Linked DNA regions of Homo sapiens: regions 1 and 2 are each linked to region 3. The links are contacts of gene promoters, found by promoter capture Hi-C in blood cells and fetal thymus (Javierre and others, 2016). All regions are on one chromosome and are shown on one strand. The core of a region is centred on a gene start or on the middle of the fragment in contact, and the rest is flanking DNA. Distances in the headings are between cores, read along the strand shown. Region 1 overlaps LRRIQ1 (leucine rich repeats and IQ motif containing 1). Region 2 overlaps SLC6A15 (solute carrier family 6 member 15). Region 3 holds the start of NTS (neurotensin).

Region 1 (3,928 bases), core at 236-2,735, 800 kb before region 3:
ATGTAAAATTAAGTTATTATTAACTATCATGCTGTTGTGCTATCAGATAGTAGGTCTTATTCATTCATTCTGTTTTTTTTATATATATATACATTAAGCAAGCATCCCCAACTCCTCCCAGCCCCTTACTAACTTTCCCAGCTTCTGGTAACATCCTTCTACTCTCTATTTTATGACCAATTTTAAATAAGAAAATCTTTCATGTTGTCCTTTGTTTGAAATTTCCCATAAGTAAATTTAAGGCAAAATTGGTAAAACTGTGTTTTCTATATGAGATGTGGCAAAAAATATATTGAATGAATGTTGCCACATGATTGTTAAAGTTTATAAAATGGTTCATGGAAAACCTTTAGTCCTTTGAGTCAGTATTTTTCAGTTAGTTTTTAAAGTAAGAATAGCCAAAGCAAATGAAAAATGGGATTTATAACTTAAAATCTAGTTGTCTTTATTTCTCTTATTTTATGTTGAATTTCATTGACTTTCTAGCAGAAAATTTTGAAACTAAATTAATTTTGAATAAATCCATATTTGAAAAAAGTTATTTTTTACATTTTATTTACATAAAAATACAATTAAGTGTTATACAGTAATAGATAGCTTTCTTACCAATAGGTATTTAAGTGCTTTATACAAATTAACTCATTTGCTTTTCACATCACTGGCATGAGTTAGGTACTATTAAATATTTTCGGCTGGGCACAGTGGCTCACGCTTATAATCCTAGCACTTTGGGAGGCTGAAGAGGGAGGATCACTTAAGGCCAGGAGTTCAAGACCAAACTGGGCAACATAGTGGGGCCCTGCCTCTACAATTTTTTTTTATTAGCTAGGTGTATTAGGCCATTTATGCCTTCCTATAAAGAAATACCCAAGACTAGGTAAAAGAAAAGAGGTTTAATTGGCTCATGGTTCTGCAGGCTTTACAGGAAGCATGGTACTGACATCTGCTTGGCTTCTAGAGAGGCCTCAGGAAACTTACAATCATGGCAGGAGGCGAAGCTGGCGCAGGCAAGTTGCAAGCAAAAGCAGGAGCAAGGGAGACAGAATGTGGTGGTGGTGGGGATATTGCCATACACTTTTAAATAACCAGATCTTGTGAGAACTCTATCTCCAAGACAGCACCAAGCCCTGATGGATCCCCCCTACCCCAATCATGATCCAAACACCTCCCAGCAGGCCCCACCTCCAGCATTGAGGATTAGAATTCCACATGAGATCTGGACAGGGACAAATATCCAAACTGTATCACTGAGTATGGTGGCATGCTCCTGCATTCCCAGCTACTCGGGAGGCTGAGTTGAGAGGAACTCATGAGACTGCAGTGAACTGTGATCATGCCACTGCACTCCAGGCTGGGTGATAAAGAGAAACCTTGTCTCAAAAACAAAAAAAAAAATTCTGACCCCACCAGATAAGAAAACTGAGACACAAAGAAGTAAAGTAGATTATCTAAAATTACACAGCTAGTAAATGATAGAGACAGGATTTGAAACTCAGCAGTCTATCTCTAGTGCCTAATTTTTAAATTACCTTATTCTTCTATTCTTCTACTTTTTAAATAAATATACATTTCATAATTAAGATTACTACTATTTTTATACTACATTAAAACTCTTTATGCTGAACAAATGTAATGATTTTGACATTTTTTCAAAATAAATTTATTGAGTACCTATATGTATAAGCGCTTTTTCAGCACTGAAATATTTCTGGGGATGTAGCAATAAACAAAATAAATGATTATCTTGACTTTTTCCACACAAAACAAACGACTCTCTTGACTTTAATATCATAGTGATATACATTTTCTCTATATATATGGAATTGGAATAAGTTATTTCTTTTATTAAATATTGAATAAAAATAAAAATAAATATAATGTTAACATGTAAGAGTAAATGATCATTTTTATATTCTTGTTCATGATGTATCTGTTTCTGTTTAGGAAAACTTTAATCTGAAAAAATATTTCTTTAATTTAAGCAATATATTTGCCAATTTATAAATTTCACATCATATATTCCTAAAAATTATCATGTAAATAGTAGAGATACTAAGAGTTTTTTTCCTTCTTTATTTTCTAGATAATACTGCTTTCTGGAAAATTGCCCACTAGTATTGTAAATATGAAAGATATGGAAATAATTTAACATTTTCACATAGGCTTGATTGCTGTGTCGTGGCTCATAGTGCTTGGAATAATTCTTGCTTTCAAATATTGTCTTTGAATCATTGGGAGGAAAAATAAAGTAAGAACTCTAGACATTTTGCTTATAAGAATCTTTTTCACTATTACCTATTCAGTGATTTTTTTTTTTTTTGGAGTCCACTAGATGGTGCTAGCTTACTTGTTAGTTTTGAAGGGCAACACAATGCTTAGTGTAAAGCTGAAAGGGATCTTAGGTATCTCGCCAGTCTAGGCTGCTTAGTTTACAGATGAAAAAACACCCACATAGTTTTCATCTAACTCATGGCAGAGGTAGGGCTGGGATCCAAGTTTCCTGATTCCTGTTTCAGTATTACTCTTTCTATACAACATGTATAATCCTGAAGTACTTTTGCACTAAAATTAAAAAGTCTCAAGTGCAACTTTGTATATTTGTATGTGTGAATGAAAAACCATCAGACATGGCAATCAGTGAACAGCTGAAGGAGGTTGATCTTCAGTGAAAAACCTCCAGCCTAATTTAACATTTTTAATTTTGCTGTTCCTTACAGAATTTTCTCCCCTGTGGCAGGAATGTTTTATTAGACCATTGGCTCATTTCTGTGGGAAGAATTATTTGAAATAGATATTTGTAGAAAGTATGGCCAAAAGTTAATTTTGCCATGGGCATGAGCCCTTTGAAGAGTAAACACACTTGACTTAAGTTTTATTTTGTGAGATCTAGGAAACTTTAAAAGAGCTGTTAAAAGAATATATTTAACCAGTAAGCTAAACAATATTTAAGCAAGTCTTTATTTGTATTATATTTAAGTCCTTTGAAAAGGCTCTTTAATATTTTTGTGGCTATTGTTTGTTTTATTTTGAATAGGGCAGGGGAAGAAATATTGGATATTTTATCTGGGAAAGAATAATTTTCTTAGAGGTGTTAAGGAATTAATGGTATCCTAAGATAGGACTTGCTATAAGTTTATTTTACTCAGTTGTCAGCCTTTATTTGACATTAAAGAATTTGTAAAATTAGGACAGGCATGGTGGCTTACACCTGTAATCACAGCACATGGTGGCTTACACCTGTATTCACAGCACTTTGGGAGGCCAAGCTGGGCAGATGGCTTGAGCTCACGAGTTGGAGACCAGCCTGGGCAACATAGTGAGACCTCATTTCTACTAAAAATAAAAAAATAAAATAAACAAAAAATAAGCCAGGTGGGCTGGTGCATGCTTGTAGCTCCAGCTACTTGGGAGGCTGAGATGGGAGAATCACTTGAGCTTGGGGGATCAAGGCTGTAGTAAGCCGAGATCACACCAATGCACTCCAACCTGGGCACCAGAACGAGACCCTGTCTCAAAAAAAAAAAAAATTGATTAAAGACAAAGGGTAGCAACTTACTCTAACTTCATTTACATCTAGAACCCGCCCACCCCTTCCATCCAAGTGCATTTATGGAATCGATTACTGTTTAATCAGTTGTGAATAGAGTTTTTGGAATGTATATTAATATTGTTTCTCCTTTAATGTTTGACTCAAAATTCAGCCCTCTCTGAAGCCTTATTTGGTCACCACAAATTTATAGTTTTAAACTCCTTGTTTTATTAAGAATAATTATTGGGAAATAATAATAGCTATCATTTTTAGTAGCTATCTTGTGAAAATCCTGTATAATATTATTTTTAATCCTCATAATGAGGTGAAGTTACCCTCACTCTATAAATAAAAAAGCTAAAGCTCAGAGAAGTTAAGTCACTTGTCTACCTTCAAATA
Region 2 (4,028 bases), core at 820-3,319, 990 kb before region 3:
TCGGCTCACTGCAACCACTGCTTCCCGGGTTCAAGTGATTATTTTGCCTCAGCCTCCCGAGTAGCTGGGATTACAGGCACCTGCCACCATGCCCGGACAATTTTTTGTATTTTAGTAGAGACGGAGTTTCACCGTTTTGCCCAGGCTGGTCTCAAACTTGTGAGCTCAGGCAATCCACCCGCCTCGGCCTCCAAAAGTGCTGGGATTACAGGCGTGAGCCACCGCCTGGCCACTATCACACACTTTGTATGTGCTTCTGTTACTCCACTTAGTATGTTCTAATCATCATTACAATATGTTGCAATATGGTTGTACAATAATATAATACTAAAACATATTGCACATTAAGATAAAACTTATAGGAATTTAAGTTTTTCTTCTTGTACACAATTCATTCATTGAATTGTGGGTTCCATGAGGACAGACTGTGGCCTATTACTCTTTGCATATCCATCAGTGCCTGACAAATAGCAGATATTCAAATATATTGTTCATTGAGAGAGGATTTACAGGAATTTGAGTTTTTCTTCCTGCACACAATTCCTAAAATTGCAAGCTTATGGTTATTCTGCAGTATTTTGAAAATTATATTCTAATTATATGTCCAGACATTTCAATTTTCATTTATTAATTCAACAAACATTTAAATTCTTAAGGACACTGATCTGGATTCAGTAAGACTCTAACACAGTTTCCTAATAAGTTACAAGAACATTTCAAGCCTACAAGATGGAGAAAAATAAGTCAATATTTCAAACATTTAAGTGATATTAAGAAGGCAACACATCAATTTTATTCCTCTGTGAGCAGGTAAGAGGACAAAATATTTCATTTTTAAATTCCATGATTTAAAAAGATGTGTCTTAGGAGTCAGCAGGTTACTTAAATATCTGTGTCATTTATAAACACAAATTATTTGCATTCACTCATATGGCTCTAATCTTATTAGACCAAAACAGCCACTTGCATAATATTATTAAAATGAGTTAAATTCAACCTATTCACTGTATTTATACCAACCACTTTCTTCTCTCCATGCGTTACGTCTTATAACTTGAAGTTATTTTATAAATTTGTTTATTGTTTGCTGCCTCTGCCACTAAATGGAAACTCCATGAGGACAGGCACATTGTTTACCTTGTTAGTTGTATTTCCAAAACTAGATCAGTGTCTAGAACATAGTAAGTGCTTAATAAATATTTGCTCAAAATAATAATGAATGGGTGAATGATTATTACACATTGTCCAAGAAGTATACATTTTTAAAACTGGGAAATGATACAAAGAAACATGCTCCTTTGACTGATTTTTAAGACCCCTCCCCCGGGCCTTGACAACTATTATGCCTGTCAAAGCAAGTACGTTAGTAAGAGAGACTATTTTATCTTTCAAAAGATTGTATAAAACATTTTCATTTTACTAAAGTGTTTAAAAAATCGAAAACAAAAACCATTGTTTTACATATGAAAAATGTTTATTATAAACATACCTTCAGAATGTATCATTCTTTTTGAAAATTCTGTAGCCCAGTTTTAGCCCTGTCTATCATGTATTGGTTGCTTAATTCTGGCCAACTATTTATTTTCCCTGAGCTTGTCAACTTTGCAGTAAAATGGGGATAAAATATGCAAATTATCTAGCTGATAGAAAGAATAAACAAGATAATGTATGCATAGTATTTAGCATAGTAGTAGTAACAACAGGAAAGTAGTCAGAGTAGAAAATACTACCTTAGAGTTAAAAGCAAGCTTGGGGCTTCTCATTTCTGTCCTACATATTTGAGACAGTCATCCCCTTAATAGATTCTGTAACTAGGGCACATGCTACCTCTGTGTGACCACCTCCAGTGATGCTGAGCTCTCTACCATTGAGGCAACTGATTTCATTATTATCAAGTTTGATTCTTGAAAGGCCTTTCTTTCTTTGAAGGCTTACCACCATCACAACCTCCTCCATAATACCCACTATTTGATCATAGTTTTGCTCTCTATGGCCACACAAAGCAGCCCTATTCTTCTTTTGGTTTAACTATTTGAAGACTTTGATCACTGAGCTGAAATTTCTCATAATAAAAAGGAAAATACAAGATTTCAGTAAAATCCAGTATTGCAGATGTGGTCCAACTGATATGTGCCTACCTAGCCCAAAGGACAATGTCCCTATCATACCCCTCTTTTAATTCATGCAGTTTCCACTTAGCATTTTGGGGTATATGTATATGCATGTATGACTGTGTGTTTTGACCAAGCACATCACCAGCTGACTCATTCTTCTTTTAGCTGCTAAATCCTCTAAGTTGTTTTTCCATGTGCTAGCCTTAAACAATATTTCTCTCTTCTGTACTTGTGACACTGTTTATTTGGAGGCATTTTCTGTTTAGTAGGTAAACACAAAGCTTAACCTTTAATTCCTCATAAAGTCATTGTTATTATATTTAACTCATTGTTTCAGATTGAGGAATTGTGACAATTTTGGCTTCCACATCTTTGCTCACATTACCTACAGCTAGCTTTCTCCCCATCAGTGCCTGTTAAATTCTTTCTTCAAATATTGCCCAAATACTAGTCTTTTCCTGAGGCATTCTCATTAAAATAATAAATGTATGTACTAAATAAATTGTATTACATTTTCTATATAAATTTACACTACATGACATGAGAAGAACAACCCCAAGATTCTGTGATAAGAAAAGGATGAATAGTTCTTTAAGTGATGCTAAGACACAGACTAAGAAGAAACAGAAACAAAACGTGGTAGTAAGAGAACCTGAGTACAAGAGTTTTTGAGCTTCTCTGGATGACCACAGTTGGTTTTCTTTCTACCAAATGATATTATGTTAGGAATCATATAAATATGGTTAGGTCTTATTTAAGAATCCACTCCTTCATTTATAATGTGACGGGAATGTGGCTCTGACATAGTGGAAGACATACACAATTGAACAATTCGAAGTTATTTAGTCATATAATACAATAACATTGCCAAAGACTTAAAGATATTTAGATGTGTTAACAAGTATATTCACAAATTCAAAAGACAAAATGATACAGAGTTTCCTTCAGGAAGATAAATGTAAAATCAGCTACAATTTACAAGTTAAAAAGTCACTAAAATTTTTAATTAAATATAAAGTAACAGGAAGCAAAGATGAATTAGACAGACTTCTGCCCTAAAAGAGTTGACTAATTGGTGGGACTAGGACGGGGTGAGACATTATAGTGTTGCAGTTAAAGAACATGGGCTCTAGATTTAGACAGACTTGCATTTGACTCCAAATACTAGAACTTAATAGCCACGAAACTTTGGATAAGTTAAACTAATTCCTCAAACCTGTTTATTTTAAATCTGTAAAATGGTTCTGAAAATAAAAATTACTTCTCAAGAGTGGTTTTTATAATTAAATGGGATAAAGTATAAAAAGTAGTTATCACAGTACCCAAAGCAAAATACATTTGTAATAAATAATTGGCTTCAATTACTGTTCTTACCCTAATTCTTGTCAGAAACATCTTTATCATCATTTATTATTATTGTTATTATGACTACTTCTACTATTGCTGCTGCTACTACTACTACTATTGCCATTCCTGCTAGTATATGATGATGAGTGGTAATAAGTTAGCCTGAAATCAGTTATACTTTGAAAAGGAAAATAGCACAGCTGGACAGTTAAACGGCAGAGAGAAGAGCCAACAGTAAATTCTTGCTATGATCCAGCCAAGAGATGTGGAGAGCTTTAGAACAATGGCTGTGATAATGAAAAAAAAAAAAAAAAAGTAATACGAAAGCAAAATAGTGAATAGCAATTACTTTCCTAGAGCGTCCTTTAAAAATAATAACAAACAAGCTACCTAGAATTCACTTAATGTCTTTTTAAACCACAACCATTCTAATTTTCAATTTGCCTTAGAAGGAATGATATTTAGTCTTTTACATTACTCTGAATTCCTTGTTGGAATTATTATTAACTACTTAATGATGTTCAGAGCTTTAAGAAACACTTCACATTACATTATTTCAAAATGTCT
Region 3 (3,986 bases), core at 159-2,658:
CTATTCTAAGTAATTATTAAATGTTTGGATTTAATCGCTTTGCTTAAGTTTTGGGTAAAGGTGAAAAAGTTAAACTCATAGATTGTATAATATAAATCAATTATCTATAGGAACCAATCCTATTTTTTCTCAACTGTTACTACATGATTGATTTATTTAAAAATTAAACAAGACTCAGACAACTTTACATTCAAATATTCACATCTCTAACAGCACTGACTTGTCAAATTACCCCATGTATCTTGAAATGCTTACTACAAGAAGAAAGTTTTACTCTAAAAGGCATTTTGAACAATTTTCTTTTGAGAACTCAGACAAAGAATGGGTATCAGTGTAACTCATGAAATACATGAAGACTATCATAGAAAAGTGACTTTGGTGAATGGTGGTTATTTAGGATTGTCTCCTTTCCAAAAGTACAATCTCTTTTTTTATGGTGAAAAGAGTATTATAACAGGGAAAGAAAGCCGATGCAATAGTAAAAACTGTTGAGAAGGGAATTATACAAAGAGTGAGACATGGCATCAAGAATGAATTCAAAAAGAGCAGAAAAATATAGGCATAAAAAGAGATAATGTACAGAAAAAAAGTCAGTGATACAACAACACAAATTTTTACCTGCTAGAATGTAAGTAATTTAGAGCTGGATTTTATAAACATGAAATTGTTTTTCTAATACATTCAACCAAAAGTCAGCACACATAGTTCAGTCATCTCTCATTACTTACAATAAAATATTTTCTATTTGTTAGGAAATAATATCTTATTCCCTGGATCTATTATTTCTTTTTATTGATTTTCTTTCTATTCTCTAAACTTAATTGCTTAATTTTTATAACTGATTCTCTGTCTCTATTCCATCTTATTCCAGCATGGATTATTTAAAACCTGTATTAGTTTTGGAACCACTAAACATTTGCTCAGAAGTTTGAATTACCAGAGAAGCACCCTAACTCTTCAAGAACTTCCAAGCCTAAGGAATCACTGATTTCATGCATTCATCCTGGAGATTTTCCTTAAAAATTAGAAATAACAGATCTCATGTTTCACAAAATCAAAATGACAACTTTTGGAGTGGGGGAATGAGAAGTGGGAAAAGGATGATACTGGGGGTTCTTTGTCAGTATGCTGTATGTATGCTGTATGTCAGTGCAGTTGAATGACTCCTTCTGTGCGTCAGAAATCCAAAGCAGCAGCAGCAGCAATTAGGGAAGATCGTCACTTTCACTCAAGGTTCAGAAATGGGGGAGGAGAGCAGGGGGGACAAAGGAAAAGGGGAGGAGAAAGCAGGGCAAAGAGGGGAGGGATGGAGGTGAAGATAGGGCACATCCTGCAAAGATAATGTCTGTACAATCAATGACATCATCCTCCTGCTTATATATATAGGGGAATGGCCAGAGCACCTCTCATAGTTCACTCACTTTCAAAGCCAGCTGAAGGAAAGAGGAAGTGCTAGAGAGAGCCCCCTTCAGTGTGCTTCTGACTTTTACGGACTTGGCTTGTTAGAAGGCTGAAAGATGATGGCAGGAATGAAAATCCAGCTTGTATGCATGCTACTCCTGGCTTTCAGCTCCTGGAGTCTGTGCTCAGGTAAGCAAAACAGAATTTCACAACTCCCTGAAGTGATTTCTTTTTTCTCTTTTGCAGTGTGTTGCTACTTATGTTAATGTATCTGGGGAGAAGAGTTGCTCCCTTTTATTCAGGATTTACCTTTTAGTGACAGAAACTGAGTATCTCTTTCTCTGCCTTTATGATTACTGAGAGATGTATTTTCTCTTTTAAAATCTGCAAAGCAATAAAAGGGATTTCAATGAAACACTGCACGACCTCCTTTGGAATTCAACAACTAGAGGGAAAAAAACCCTACAAAACTTTCAATTAGGCTGATCATTATCTAATGAGAAATACAGAGGCAGTGGCTGTCAACCTGCAAACCCATCATTAAATCCCATTCCATTCAAAATGTTTTACTCTCATCCTCATTCATTCTCTTAGGAAGCGGTGGCCCTCACGCCCTTGTAATAGTCCCCGTATTATTTTCTTGTTTGTGTTAAGATAACAAATAAAGTGAAAATTGATACTTAGTGAAAAATGAAGCATTATTTGTAGAAAATTATTTCTAGAAAAATACAAAAATATTCCAGATCCTTTTTGAGAACAGAATTTGCATAGTCTAATAAGTGTGCTATTAATATAACTGTTTGGCATTTTTTCCATGCCATTTAAGTTAATACAAAATACAATTGGAAAATTGGTATTCTTATATTGATGGAAATTATTTGACTTTAGAGTGTTTTGCATGTGGTTTGAAAGAAGTTATATAGTCCTAAGTATCTACGAATAACTCACTTTGAAAATAAGACTTAAATTGAAAGGTATAACATGAAATATTACAACCATTGCAAAAGGCTCTACTTAATATTTAAGAAATATTACAATGAACACTTCAAAGGGAAAAGAACACATTAGGAAGCAAATGCAGCAAAAATAATTTAACCTGTTCTGTGCTTTTATGTATCATAAATATGACATGGAAATGTTTAACTCAAACTCATGCTATCATTTGATTTAAATTATGAAATTAAAATCTAAGAAGATATAAATGTGATTTATACAAAATTTTAAATTTATTTTAATCATCAGAACATAACTTTCAGCTTCTACTTTTTAAATCTTATGAGAAAAAACAAACTTTTCTATAATTATGATTTTATCTGAAAGTTATATGAGATTAAAGATTCACATACTTCTGGAAGAAAAACTGGGTTATTGATTAAGCACTGTGTTTATTAACTTGAAACTACTTGTTGTAATAATGCAATAGTTATAAGGATTTTGGTATACATTGTTCATAAATTCCTAAAACAGATTATGTCTCTAACAAATAGTGAGAAAAGATCTCTTGTATAATTTAGGTTCTAGGTAAAATTAAGCCAATGGGTTCTCCAATTGTGGCATTTCTTTTTACTGAGTGTGTAGTACAAGGAAGATAGAGTCATTTTTAACTTTATTTTTATTATTGTATAGTATTTTCCAAATTTTCCTTCTCTGTAAAATATTCATTAACAGAAACTTGGATAGAGTTTTTTAAAAATCCAGAGATCCATTTTCAATGCTGTTGTACATGTGTTGTTGAACAGCTCCACTTTTGCTTTAAACAATTTCCTTAAATGCCTATGAAAAAATTGAGGATACATAATTTTGAATTCTCTTAAAGTACAATACAATTCTTTCAACGTGTGTTTTGTAAAAAACATCTCAAGTTAAGTAAACCTCAGTATCTTTATTATTCTAAAATTATCAGTAAGCAATTCCCTTTGGTTTTGTCTTGAAAAAGTCTCTTGTATAGTCTTCATTATGTTGTGTTTTTAAATGTTAATATGCATATTTTCTATATATGTAAACTGTGGCTGGTAAGAAATAAGCTACTCTAGCATATTTGGTAAAATATGTGTTATACAATGTAATCACATTTTTAAAGCCTGAAATTCAAAGATTAAACAACTCCCAGTGATCAATAGCTGTCTGAAAAATAATCATATGCTTATTTTCTTAGAAGTGCTTCTACTATTTTAGCTTCCTATTATGCTAAAGTATAACTATAATTTGTTTTTTAGGATTACTATTTTTAAGAAAATACATAAGAAAGACACTAACCTCTAAGATTTTTTTTTAGATTAACCTAAAATCTGTAGATTATGATATAATTATATGATATGTAATTATAGTAAACCTGATTTTGATTTTACTCAGATTCAGAAGAGGAAATGAAAGCATTAGAAGCAGATTTCTTGACCAATATGCATACATCAAAGGTAACTTTTTCTTTTCTTTAACCCTGAGTTGAAGAACATATGAACTTTCATTATAAACATGGTATCCTTTTCCCATAGTAATAACTTCTCATCAAGATTGAAAAGTTCCTTGAGAGGCATTTCCTTTTTGAAAAAAAAAATTTCTTTTAGTTAAAAGAAGTTAAAGGTGTT

What was found. Contacts are between HindIII fragments. The CHiCAGO score rates a contact against its expected background, and 5 or more counts as called.
Region 1: a fragment that was not itself captured here is called in contact with the fragment with the promoter of NTS in region 3 in 1 of 17 cell types (total B cells); the score reaches 7.2 in total B cells.
Region 2: a fragment that was not itself captured here is called in contact with the fragment with the promoter of NTS in region 3 in 1 of 17 cell types (naive B cells); the score reaches 7.7 in naive B cells.

The regions. Positions count from the first base shown.
Region 1 is chr12:85,074,475-85,078,402 of GRCh38, forward strand. The region is part of intron 11 of LRRIQ1 (leucine rich repeats and IQ motif containing 1); the gene reads left to right. Among named protein-coding and RNA genes, the nearest start is that of LRRIQ1, 40 kb to the left of the region's middle. The HindIII fragment of the contact is 5,447 bases long and covers 1-3,928 here.
Region 2 is chr12:84,879,393-84,883,420 of GRCh38, forward strand. The region is part of intron 5 of SLC6A15 (solute carrier family 6 member 15); the gene reads right to left. Among named protein-coding and RNA genes, the nearest start is that of SLC6A15, 31 kb to the right of the region's middle. The HindIII fragment of the contact is 647 bases long and covers 1,747-2,393 here.
Region 3 is chr12:85,872,887-85,876,872 of GRCh38, forward strand. It overlaps NTS (neurotensin), which reads left to right and starts at 1,409. Exons shown (of 4, transcript NM_006183.5): 1 at 1,409-1,590; 2 at 3,754-3,815. The coding sequence starts at 1,518. The HindIII fragment of the contact is 11,906 bases long and covers 1-3,986 here.